Regions from separate parts of the Homo sapiens genome. Here regions 2, 3 and 4 are each linked to region 1. Evidence: promoter capture Hi-C in human tissues and cell types (Jung and others, 2019). All regions are on one chromosome and are shown on one strand. Each heading gives the region's core, a stretch centred on a gene start or on the middle of the fragment in contact. The rest is flanking DNA. Distances are from core to core; before and after follow the strand shown.

Region 1 (2,827 bases), core at 244-2,743:
TTTTAAAACCATATCACATGTCTTGATACTCGCTTATAAGCTTTGAGGATTCATTGCTTATAAGTTAAAAATATTCACAAGTCATTAACTTGTTTACCTTCGGACAATTATGAGGTTGTGTATGTGTGTGTAATCGAGCAAGCATTTTACCTTAAAAGGCTTATTCGAGTAAAGATCAAGGAAAAATCTAACTTAATGCCAACGAAATAAACACATTAAGATTTAGAAATTCAGGCTGGGCGTGATGGCTCATGCCTGTAATCCTAGCACTTTGGGAGGTCGAGGCGGGCGGATCACCTGAGGTCAGGAGTTCGAGACCAGCCTGGCCAACATGGTGAAACCCCCTCTCTACTAAAAGTACAAAAATTAGCCGGGTACGGTGGCGGGCGCCTGTAATCCCAGCGACTTGGGAGGCTGAGGCAGGAGAATCGCTTGAACCCAGGAGGCAGAGACTGCAGTGAGCCGAGATCAGGCCACTGCACTCCAGCCTGGGCGACAGTGAGACTCTGTCTAAAGAAAAAAAAAAGAAGATTTGGAAATTCATTCAATAGTATTTACACACATTAAATACTTCTAAGAATGGCACATGGAAAATATCTTATTTACGTTTGTGCCCCTGGACCAAGAAGTAGAGTGCTCAGGTAACACAGGATTCCTTGAGAAAATAATTTTTAAATCAGTATGAAACCAGATTTGAGAAGAGCACAGATTAATGGAGTGGGAGGAAGGACCCTACGAGATATTAACCAAAGCACAGATATGTAATTGAGGCAGGAACTGGAAAGACACATTGGAGGCAATAACCCAAATGTCAAAACTGGAAGGAAACTTGTCACTTACTCCAAGCTCCTCATTTTACAGAAAAGGAAACGGAAATCCAGAAGGGTCAAAAAAGCTTCTCCAATGTCATACCGCTAGTTAATGGCAGTCAAGACTAGAACCCAGACGTTCTGACTCCCAGTACGGTGTTGTTTCGCCGCTAGGATATCCTTGTCAAGGAATCTGAAAAAAGTATGTTGCAAATACGTAGTTGCGTTAGGGAAAACGTCTGAATGTGAGCTGGAAGCTTTGGAACTTACCAGAAAGGTAAAAATAAATCACTGCAGAAAAATTACGGATCTGGGGTGGCTCGCCTCAAATTGGAGCCCAGAAGGCCTTGGGCCCATGGGAGGCTGGGAAGTGAGGACCTGCACCCACAGCCGCGCGCGAGGAGGGGAAGCCGGCCAGCCGCTTCCGAGAGAACAGTGCACATGCCTTCGTGAATGCCTAACGTGGGCTCACGCAGGGATTAAATGCATCTTGGAAAGGCTTCCGAACGCACAATGTTTATGAAGTTCGCGTGATTTGTGCCACTGACACGTTAGGCGAAACAACACACACCACCTGCACCGGACAACCCTGGTTAAGGGATCCTACCCACTTAACTCCTACCTACAGCCCCGGGCCCCTGGATTCTGAGCACGGGCGGAGATCACCTTCTGGACCCGGAAGAATGGTCGGTAGGTCAGTCCGTCCCCGCTACGGTCCCCGCCGGGCTTCCGGTCCCGCTGGAAAAGGTTCTTTCCGGAATTCAGAGAGTTGCTGTCGCCGCTGGGGGTGGGACTGTCTGCGGTGTCCGCGGCGGGCGTCCAGCCTGGGAGGCGCTGGTTCAACCTGTGGCTCCTCCCAGGGTCAGCCGCGCGTGGTGAATCGTTTCTGCAGGTCCCTTCCATTTCTTACTTTCCTTTCCTTTCTTTCTCTCTTTCCTTTTTTTCTTTCTGTCCCTCTCCTTTCTTTCCTTCCTTCCTTTCTTCATTTCTTCCTTCCTTTCCTCTTCCTTCCTTTCCGTTTTTCTTTCTCTTTTTTTTTTTTTTAAGAAAACTGCCTTTATTCAATTAGAAGTTGGAAAAATTAACTGGTACAGAAAAAAAGTGTAATCAGCTGGAGAAAAAGTGCCACCCATGAGAACTGATGGCTCCTCTGGGAGGGAATCTGGATACAGTGAGGATTTCTAGGAAGCAAATTACTTCTTCTCTGGGGCTATGAGAGGCCTCGGTGGTGCTTAACACTGTAGGAAACGTTAAATGGAGAATTGTGGGAGAAATGATACCTCCTTCAAAGATACGTGTTCCTAACAAGAAGGAAAAAACAAATGCAAGCGAACAGTGGCGGTAGAACCAGTTAGTATTGTGCGAACAGTACTTTCTGTTTTCTCCTAAGTCAGCTCGTGTGTATGGCATTAGGAGTAATAGAGCCAGAGTGCCTGGTTTCCTATCCCAGCTCATTCCTAGTGTGTGGTTGGGAATGTTTTGTCAACTGTCCATGTCCCAGTTTGTTCATCTACATTATAGTAATGACAGTAGCTAGTTCACAGGATTGTAATAAGGTTTTTGTTGTGTTTTTGTTTCTATTTGTTTTTGAGATGGAGTTTCGCTCTTGTTGCCCAGGCCGGAGTGCAATGGCACGATCTCAGCTCACCGCAACCTCTGCCTCCCGGGTTCAAGCGATTCTCCTGCCTCAGCCTCCCGAGTAGCTGGGATTACAGGCATGTGCCACCACTCCTGGCTAATTTTGTGTTTCTTGTAGAGACAGGGTTTTTCCATGTTGGTCAGGCTGGTCTCGAATTCCCTATTTCAGATGATCCGCCCACATCGGCCTCCCAAAGTGCTGGGATGACAGGCGTTAGCCACCTCTCCCAGACTGTTTTTTGTTTTTTTTGAGACAGTGTCACTCTGTCGCCCAAGCTGGAGCACAATGGCGCGATCTCGGCTCATTGCAACCAAACTCCGCTTCCTGGGTTCAAGTGATTCTCCCGCCTCAGCCTCCCGCGTAGCTGAGATTACAGGGG
Region 2 (2,827 bases), core at 85-2,584, 410 kb before region 1:
GGCTTCGCATTCCTGAGTGGACTTAAACCACAGAAAATGAAGAGGTAGAGGTACAATGGGCCCACTTCAGGAGTTATCTCCCCAGGATCAGAGGGTACAGCCTAAATGTGAGTACAGGCATTTGTCACAGATTCTCTACCTGGCTTAGTGCAGAAAAAGTGAGCGGTAAATGACTGTGCTCAGCTTCACTGTGAAGATAGAAGGAATTGAAACACATAGTCCACCCTCCAACCCTTCTAGCTACATCAAAAGTGTCTTGATGTCTTCCCCCCTTTACAGTCTTGCGGTACCAACAGGACATGGCACATCTTAAGCTCTAGGGGCCACCAAAACAGACAATAGTCTGGACAAACACAGATTTGAGAGGCACCTTAAAACCATTGGCCAGTCAGATTGGTGAGATCCTTCTCCTATACAAGGCCAGTCTGACGAGATAGGGAGAGGTTTTTTGTTTTTTTTTTTTTTTTAATCTAATGCACAGAAACCAACACACAGTGTCAGTGACAATGAAGAAATGAAATTCCAGATAAACGAGCAAGACATCTCCAGAAAGCAACCCCAGTTAAGTAGAGATATGTGATTTACCCAACAGGGAATTCAAAATAATAGTCATAAAGACCCTCACTGAGGTCAAGAGAGCAATATAAGAACAAATTGAGAACTTTAGAGATAGAAGGTGTTTTTTAAAACTACTCAATGAGTTTTGGTACTTTTGAAATACTTTCTCTGAGGATTGGCTGAGCACGTTGACTCATGACTGTAATCCCAGCACTTTGGGAGGCTAAGGCGGGTGGATCACTTGAGGTTAGGAGTTTGAACACCAGCCTGGCCAACATGGTGAAACACCCTGTCTCTACTAAAAATACAAAAATTAGCCAGGCAAGGTGGAGCACATCTGTAATCCCAGCTACAGGGGAGGCTGAGGCAGGAGAATTGCTTGAACCGGGAGGTGAAGGTTGCAGTGAGCCACGATTGTGCCACCGCACTCCAGCCTGGGTGACATAACATGACTCCATCTCTAAAAAAAAAAAAAAAAAAAAAAAAAAACTTTCTCTGAAGAGTACTGCCACTGAACTGAAAAATTCAATAGAGAGGTTCAACAGCAGACTAGATTAAGCAGAAGAAAGGAACAGTGAACTTGGAAAGACAGATTACTGGGAACCATCCAATCTGAGAAACAAAAAGAAAAAGAGTAAAGATAGCTTAGAGACTTAGGGTGGTCCAACAACTTACGTGTTACCAACATGCCAAAAAGAGAAGAGAGAGAAATGGGCAGAAAACATGTTCAAGGAAATAATGGCAGAAAAATTCCCAAGCCTAGGAAAGAAAATAAAGCCAAATCTAGGAAGCGCAAAGGACACGAGTAAGATGAATCCAAAAAGATGTACCCCAAGAAACATCTTAAATGATCAAAAGTTAAAGGCAGAGCATTATAAGTAGTCAGGGAAAAGAGAATCATCACACATAAGGAAACCTCTATAAAACCATCAGCAGATTTCCCAAATGCAAGTTGAAGGTCTAAGGTTTACGTGAAGAATTAACCCTTGGGGGATAACAGGAGAGGATACATTTCAGCTTCCTTAGGACAATTGTAACAGGCAGTGGGTCTGTTCAGTCAGGCTGCAGGGGAACAGGGTAACCTTTGAAATGTAAGTGGCCTTCAGAATGGGGCTCAAGCAGTGGTTCACGGTTGGGGCCTATGTGTTCCAATTCAGTGGACATGTATGTAGTCTTTTCATTTATCTCTGATGTCAGCAGGCATGAGCAGGTGATAAAATGAAAAATTATTTGAATAAATGTTGACAAGAGTTCTGTGGTGGTTTGGGCCATGACAATTACCAACACTTGGGTGGGCATGGTTAAAAGGCTAAAGAGGATCTGTATTGAAGTAAATGGTTGGGTTTATTTTTGCCCTAGCCTTTCACTTTTTAAAACCTGCCCATTTTACAAAACAAAGCTTAAAACCCAGGTATCTGCTATCTAATAGAAATGTGTAAATGACCAACCTAGGCAATGTGGTGAAACCCTGTCCCTACAAATAAAATTTAAAAATTAACTGGGCATGGTGGTACGCATCTCTGTAGTCCCAGCTGCCAGGAGGCTGAGGTGGGAGGATTGCTTGAGCCCCGGAGGAGGAGGTTGTAGTGAGCTGAGATTGTGCCACTGCGTTCCAGCCTAGGAGACAGACCCTGTCTCAAAAAAAGTATAAATGAGTTTAGTCTGCCTGGTGGGTGGTGTGGGGAAGGAAGTTGGCCTAGTCTGTTAATGTTCCTGAAAGGAGTGAAGGGTGGGCTGAACTAAACCAAAAGGTGAAAGAAAGATGTTTTAACAATTTATATTAAATGAAAACTATGGTATAGTTTTTATTTACTTTGCTAGGATAAAAGGAAAAATATTTTAGATAATTTCAGTTGCTCAGAGTCTCAGAATTTTTGCTTGTTTCTTGTGGGTTGTATCTCTGCAGAAGGTGGAGCTGATTCCTACAGTGAAGAATCTGATTCAGATTTATCTGATGTGCCCGAACTGGACTCTGATATTGAGCAAGAAGCTCAAATCAATTATGATCGCCAGGTCGGTAAGCAGGGAGCAATGAAAATTTGTAACCCCAGAAGGGGATCTCATTCCTGGATTTGGACATAGCACTAAAAATGACTGGCACTTAGACAAAGAGAATTGAGGCAAAAACAAGAAAAATAGTCTACTTTGTGCCTTTAAGTGCAGGTTAAAACCGACGTGTTTACCCAATCATACCATTAAAATTTATTTCAGCAGAAAGTAATTGCAAAGTTTGAAAACTGAACCCCTGGTATTTGGGCTTTTTGCCTCC
Region 3 (2,827 bases), core at 110-2,609, 370 kb before region 1:
GTAAATATGTCTTGAACACCTAAATGCACTAGAACTATGAGGTGTACTGAGAGGTACAAATTCAGCAAACATTTATTAAGTAGCTTCTGTGTGGCAGGCACAGGGGATCCCATGATGAATGGTCCCATCTCTAGTGTCAGAGATAGACAGGACTTGAACAGAGTCTCAGCAACATATCCATTCAAATTGGGTAATTCGAGGAGAGTCTTTAAAATGGGACTATTTATATAAAGGGATGGGGAAGGTATGAGGAAATGACCAGGGATAGTGCAGCACTATGCAGCTAGTAATGGCGGCTGCTCTCACTGGCCCTGGGCTTGAAGGGACAGGAGGAGAGGACAATTGCTGCAACCTTGAATATGAGAGCCACATGAGATGGCAGCCTGAGAGAAGCCACGACTGATAGCAGGGGACTCTGCCAGCATGCAGTGACCCTGCGGGAGGCAGCCAGGGAAATAAATGGCCCGGCCTCCCTATTCTTCCTCCATCTCTCTAATTTCCCACCAGTGCTCCCCGTTGGCCAAAGTCAACCTGAAACCAGAGGACAAGGGAGCCCATTGATGCTCTCCATGCAGACCAGCTTCAGGCACAGAGCAGGGTGGACAAGGGCAAAAAGGGGATGTGAAAGGACAAACTAAAGATATTTGGCACAAAGTACCCTGGAGCCTCAGAGGACATCTACTGCTTGGAAATGCTTCATCAGAGAGGTGACGAGCTGAGGCTTGAAGGATCTGTAAAAGTTCTTAAGAGGGAAGGATGAAATTGAGGTCTGACCCTAAAATATTTGTACTGAGTAATTTTATAAGCAGACATGAGGATTGTATTCTAGGGTAATAAAATGAAGAAAGGTGTCAAAACAGTAGTAACAATAGTGATGGTGGCTAATATGGCTGAGCCAACAACTATGCCAGCTCTTTCCATGTAGTCTTTGTAGGAACCCCATGAGTAAGGCTATTATTATTGCCACTTACAAATCAGAAAACTGAGGCACAGGAAGCTTAATTAGTTTGCACATTTAGTAGGTAATGGAACCAAATTCAAACCCATGCAGTGTGACTGTGAGAACACACCTGTGGCCACTGCTTAACACTATTTCCCTCTGCCGTGTTGCCTGTCTTTACACTAGGCTCCTGGGGATTGGTAAATGGTGGAGGCAGGATTTCCCAAATCTAAGTCCAAAGCCCATGCTCGTAATCACTACAGGCTAGAATCATTTTGGCTACTAGTTTATATCGGGGGAATGATAGGCCAAGTCCTCACTGTGAAGGACTTGAATGTCAGTGAATGGACTTTATTCTCTAAGTTAAAAATTAGTTGAACAACTATTGACCCATCTTAGATAGGATAACCATTCAACCCAGTTTACCCCTGTTGTTCTGGTATAATTATTAATAGCTTTCCTTTTCACTCTCAAACGTGTCTTGGTCTGTACGATAGATTGTGATTAACCTAATCTTGATGATGCTCTTCAAGGGCAGGCTTGTATTTTCATTGTCTCAGTACTGGCACGTCAGTTTTGAGCATGAACACAGCTTTCAGCATACCATGAACAGAGGAGTTGGTAAAGAGGCTCGGTATTAAATGCCCTGGCACAAGGCCACCTGGCTGTCCTATCCCTGGGGTGTGCTTACAACGCTCGACAATAAGAATGGTGGCAGAGGGTAGGCATGTTCTTGAATCAGTTTCCTTTTAGACATACCTTTGCAAAGTCCATGCTCCTGATTCAGAAATGTCTTTGTGACCCTACAAAGGAGTAGAGAACATGGTTCATGGAGCACCATCACCCTAGTGCCAATTAGTTTTCCAGAAACCCCTTGGGAGAATGTTCAGATTCCATTCTTCGCGTGACAGAAGAGGCAAGAACAACATCTTTCACCTCTAGAGTTATACATTACAATCCGTGGATCAGAGAATTGGAGCAACTAAAAGAATGAGGTCCTCTAAAGCAAGTTGTATGTAAGGCTTAATATTTAAAAAAAATGGTTTCTGGAAATTTTATTATAGAACTCCTATTCTTAAATATTACCTCTTTTCTTCGAAGCAAAGATACTGGTCCTATTAACCCTATACTCCTTTTCTCCATTTACCCCACTTATTTTTTGGAAACCCCAGGTATTTAAATACTCATAAATGAATGAATAAACCTCATGGAAGTTGAAAATGTATTTTTGATATTATGATCTTTTTCCTTGGACTTGGGGAGAAGAGATACTTAATTTTATTTTCTTGAGACAGGGTCTCCCTCTGTCATCCAGTCTGGAGTGCCATGGCATGATCACTGCTCACTGCACCCTCCACCTCCAAAGCTCAAGTGATCCTTCCACCTTGCCTCCTGAGTAGTTGGAATTACAGGCATGTGCCACTATTCCTGGCTAATTTTTGTATTTTTTGTAGAGATGGGATTTTGCTGCGTTGCCCAGGCTGGTCTTGAACTCCAGGGCTCAAGCAATCCACCTGCCTTGGCCTCCCAAGGTGCTGGGATTACAGGCATAAGCCACTGCACCTAGCTTATTTCTTTACTTTTTGTACAGGGTGGGTTTCGCCTCTACAAAAAATAACTTTTCAACTAATTTTTAACCTACGGAATGTGGCCCAGACTGGTCTCGAACTCCTGGGCTCAAGAGTTCCACCTGCCTCGACCTTCCAAAGTGCTGGGATTACAGGCATGAGCTGCTGCGCCCAGACAAGAGGTGTCTTAAATTAGGAAGTTTTAGTTCTCACAAGTGTAGTGTCAATTTAAAGGCAGTCACGTGTCCATACATAATGCACATCATCAGATTTCTTCATCTTTTCATGTGGTTTGCTTGACAGTGAAGTTTTGGATAAT
Region 4 (2,827 bases), core at 230-2,729, 290 kb before region 1:
TGAACTAGTTGAGTGCTTGAAGATATATGAGCTGAATAATTCAGACATTAATATCTCAGCTGATAAGCAATAATTGGGCAAAGAGTACTTATCAGGGAAATTACGTTTCAGGTACCAAAAATATCACCTCTAGCCTTTGAAGGATCAGGCACAAAGTCAGTCTGAATTTTGTTAAACATTGGTCATCATCAGTTCCTTTGCTTTCTAATTCAAGGCCTTCATGTGTATGTCTGGCAATCACTTTGACCTACTTAGTAGGTAACAAACATGATGCCACCAGCTACAGTGATTATTTAGGCTTATGTAACACTATAAATGAAAAGGGGAGTAGTAGAGCACCCCCATTATCTAAAGCGGGGATCAGCAAACTTTCTCTGTGAAGAGCCAGACAGTAGAATTTTAGGTTTTATGGGCCACATAGGGTTTGTGTCTCATATTATTCTGTGTCGTTGTCATAACCCTTTAAAAATGTACACCACCCACTCTTAGCTCCCACACTATACAAAAACAGGCCGTGGCCCAAACAAGCAGTGGTTTGCTAACCCTTGATCTAAAGCATATATCTTTCTCCATGTATTAAACGAACTCTGACTGAATGCTTACTGACCATTAATTAAGCAGTCAAACATTAGTAAGCATATTTATTACAGCTTAGGAAGACACTTTGGATGACTCTACCAAGCAACAGTTCTACAAATAGCAACACTCTGGTCACCCTAACTGAATTTAACTAATGTTCAAGTCAGTAAATATCAGGCATTCTTAATATCTGTCAATTGAAAAAAAATTTTTTTAAGCTGCCGTATTCTTAGCAATTGCTATTGGAACCCCTGGTAGAAAGGTTTGAAGGATGACTTCAGTTAGTAAGGCTTTTCTCTCACAGTTTTATAGACTCCTATTGCTGAAGCTAAATATAACTTTTGCACTTGAGCAAGTTTACTATAGAGTAAGAGAGTTATTTTTATCCATCACTATCCACAAGTCTAAAGGGAAAAGTGTTGACCTTCCATATTTTAGAAGAAATTACTCTAGCAACGAAGATGCCCTTAACATGACAGAAGATAGTAACAAACACAAGCTAAAATAACTCCTCATTTGGTCATTACAGTCACTGACAAGGCTTCACTCCAAGTCCACAGGGGAAAAGCCCAAGACTTCACACCTGAGCCACTGTAGGGGCTCAAATGTCACTTGCCTCTTTGAGAACACTTCCTAAAAGCCAGGCTATCCCAAGACAAAGAGAAGAACACAGGGAGGTCTCAAATGTCCTTAGGGCCAGGCAGGTGACATACATGTATGTGAGAGGCTGGGAGAGAACTGAGGCACACAGTGATATGCATTCTTCCTCTCAAAGGGGCACTTACAACCCTGCTCCATACGCTGTGGCCATGCAAATATTCCAGGCCAGTGTTGCCAGAAATGTACACTTTTGTGTGCTATCATATAATTTTTAAATGTTGCAGCTATGTTGAGAAAACTGAATACTTCGGCGGCCCAAAACAGAAATAGTGGTTAAGTGTATTCAGGGAACACACCACCAGGAGAGAAAGGGGTGGCAGCAAGAACTAACCTAGAGAGTAACCATTATTAATGGGAATCCACCACAAATGATGGATTTGTAACATGGCAGGAATAAGGTCAATAAACACTTTAAAGAAGCAAACAGGCTGCTCTCATTTTGGACTTAACAAATTCTACACGATTCCATGGCAAATACTTTGCAACATTATAGCCAATACTTATTAACTGAAGAGGTCAAAGCTTATCTCTCCATTGCACAGTATCGAGACTGGAGGAAGGAGGCCTAAAATGTAATGAAGATCTAACAAATACTTACTGAAAAGGGGCAAGGGCCACATCTGGTTTATCTTTCTTCCAGGGCAATAAGAGAATTAAATTCACTGTGTATAACACACCTGATTAAAGAGCTCTGCAGATTTGTGATGTTTCAATTTGGGGGAAGGGGTATCTTTAAGGCAAACGGTGGGAGAGTGCTTAGTAAGATCTCAGAAATTACTCTGGCAGTTCTGACCATTTCAAAACTTTCCTGCACTCTCAAACTCTAAACTCTACTTGCCCTTCTGTGTCTCCTTCAGATTCATTCATTAGTTGGTAGTTTGGACTCTCTCTATATCCCCAGCCCACTTCCTTCTAATTTTTCTGAGAGCTCAAGAAACCTGAAAGGAAGCTGTCAAAATGTGAATGTTAACAGCTGCCTATGAGCCTGAGAGCTAGATTTTAGTGTTCTTCTGGGTCAGCTATTTCTGGAGCTCAGGCCGTTTTTTTTTTTTTCTTCCTCTCACTTTCAGATTTAAGATTGTGTTCTGGAACATTATAGTTGCGCCTCAATTACAGAAAAGTAAGAACCTCTGCTGAAAATACCTGGTCTTAGTCCCTAAAAAAGTAAAATTATTAGACAGCTTTTTGGGATTTGAGGTTTCAAAAGACAGGAACCTGCTAAGAAGGCTCAGTCAGACTCAATTAGCCCAAAAGCTGAGCCCAGTAGGCATTGTCATATGCTTTTCTTTCATAATTGCGGGTGGGAAGCGAGGGGAGGGAGGATTTATAGTTTAATGCCACAACTTTTTAAAACAGTGATTTTTGCCATACTATTTGACTAGGAAAATGATCGTTGCTCACTCTATAAATACTTGAAATCTTTTCTAGGACTTAGAAGTTTGTAGTTAATTGCAAAGGAGCAAAACAAACGGAATATTACACAAGAATTTAAAAGGAGAACTCTGCAGAACATGTCTTATTTTTATTCGCCCAAGTCAACCACCAGGAAACTTGGACCAGGCACACGGATACCCATCATTTCACACCG

What was found. Contacts are between HindIII fragments. The study calls those that stand out against the background at their distance.
Region 2: a contact is called between a fragment that was not itself captured here and the fragment with the promoter of MTIF2 in region 1, in 1 of the 25 tissues and cell types used here (IMR-90 fibroblasts).
Region 3: a fragment that was not itself captured here is called in contact with the fragment with the promoter of MTIF2 in region 1 in 1 of the 25 tissues and cell types used here (lymphoblastoid cells).
Region 4: a fragment that was not itself captured here is called in contact with the fragment with the promoter of MTIF2 in region 1 in 2 of the 25 tissues and cell types used here (H1 embryonic stem cells and hippocampus).

The regions. Positions count from the first base shown.
Region 1 is chr2:55,267,738-55,270,564 of GRCh38, forward strand. MTIF2 (mitochondrial translational initiation factor 2) reads right to left here and starts at 1,494. Exons shown (of 16, transcript NM_002453.3): 1 at 1,432-1,494; 2 at 841-1,002. RefSeq lists enhancers at 1,437-1,586, 1,532-2,355. The HindIII fragment of the contact is 5,929 bases long and covers 468-2,827 here.
Region 2 is chr2:54,861,319-54,864,145 of GRCh38, forward strand. EML6 (EMAP like 6) reads left to right here. Exons shown (of 42, transcript NM_001039753.4): 13 at 2,465-2,571. Among named protein-coding and RNA genes, the nearest start is that of EML6-AS1, 110 kb to the left of the region's middle. The HindIII fragment of the contact is 3,975 bases long and covers 1-2,827 here.
Region 3 is chr2:54,900,190-54,903,016 of GRCh38, forward strand. The region is part of intron 22 of EML6 (EMAP like 6); the gene reads left to right. Among named protein-coding and RNA genes, the nearest start is that of RTN4, 150 kb to the right of the region's middle. The HindIII fragment of the contact is 4,274 bases long and covers 1-2,827 here.
Region 4 is chr2:54,975,128-54,977,954 of GRCh38, forward strand. The region is part of intron 5 of RTN4 (reticulon 4); the gene reads right to left. Among named protein-coding and RNA genes, the nearest start is that of RTN4, 74 kb to the right of the region's middle. The HindIII fragment of the contact is 8,425 bases long and covers 1-2,827 here.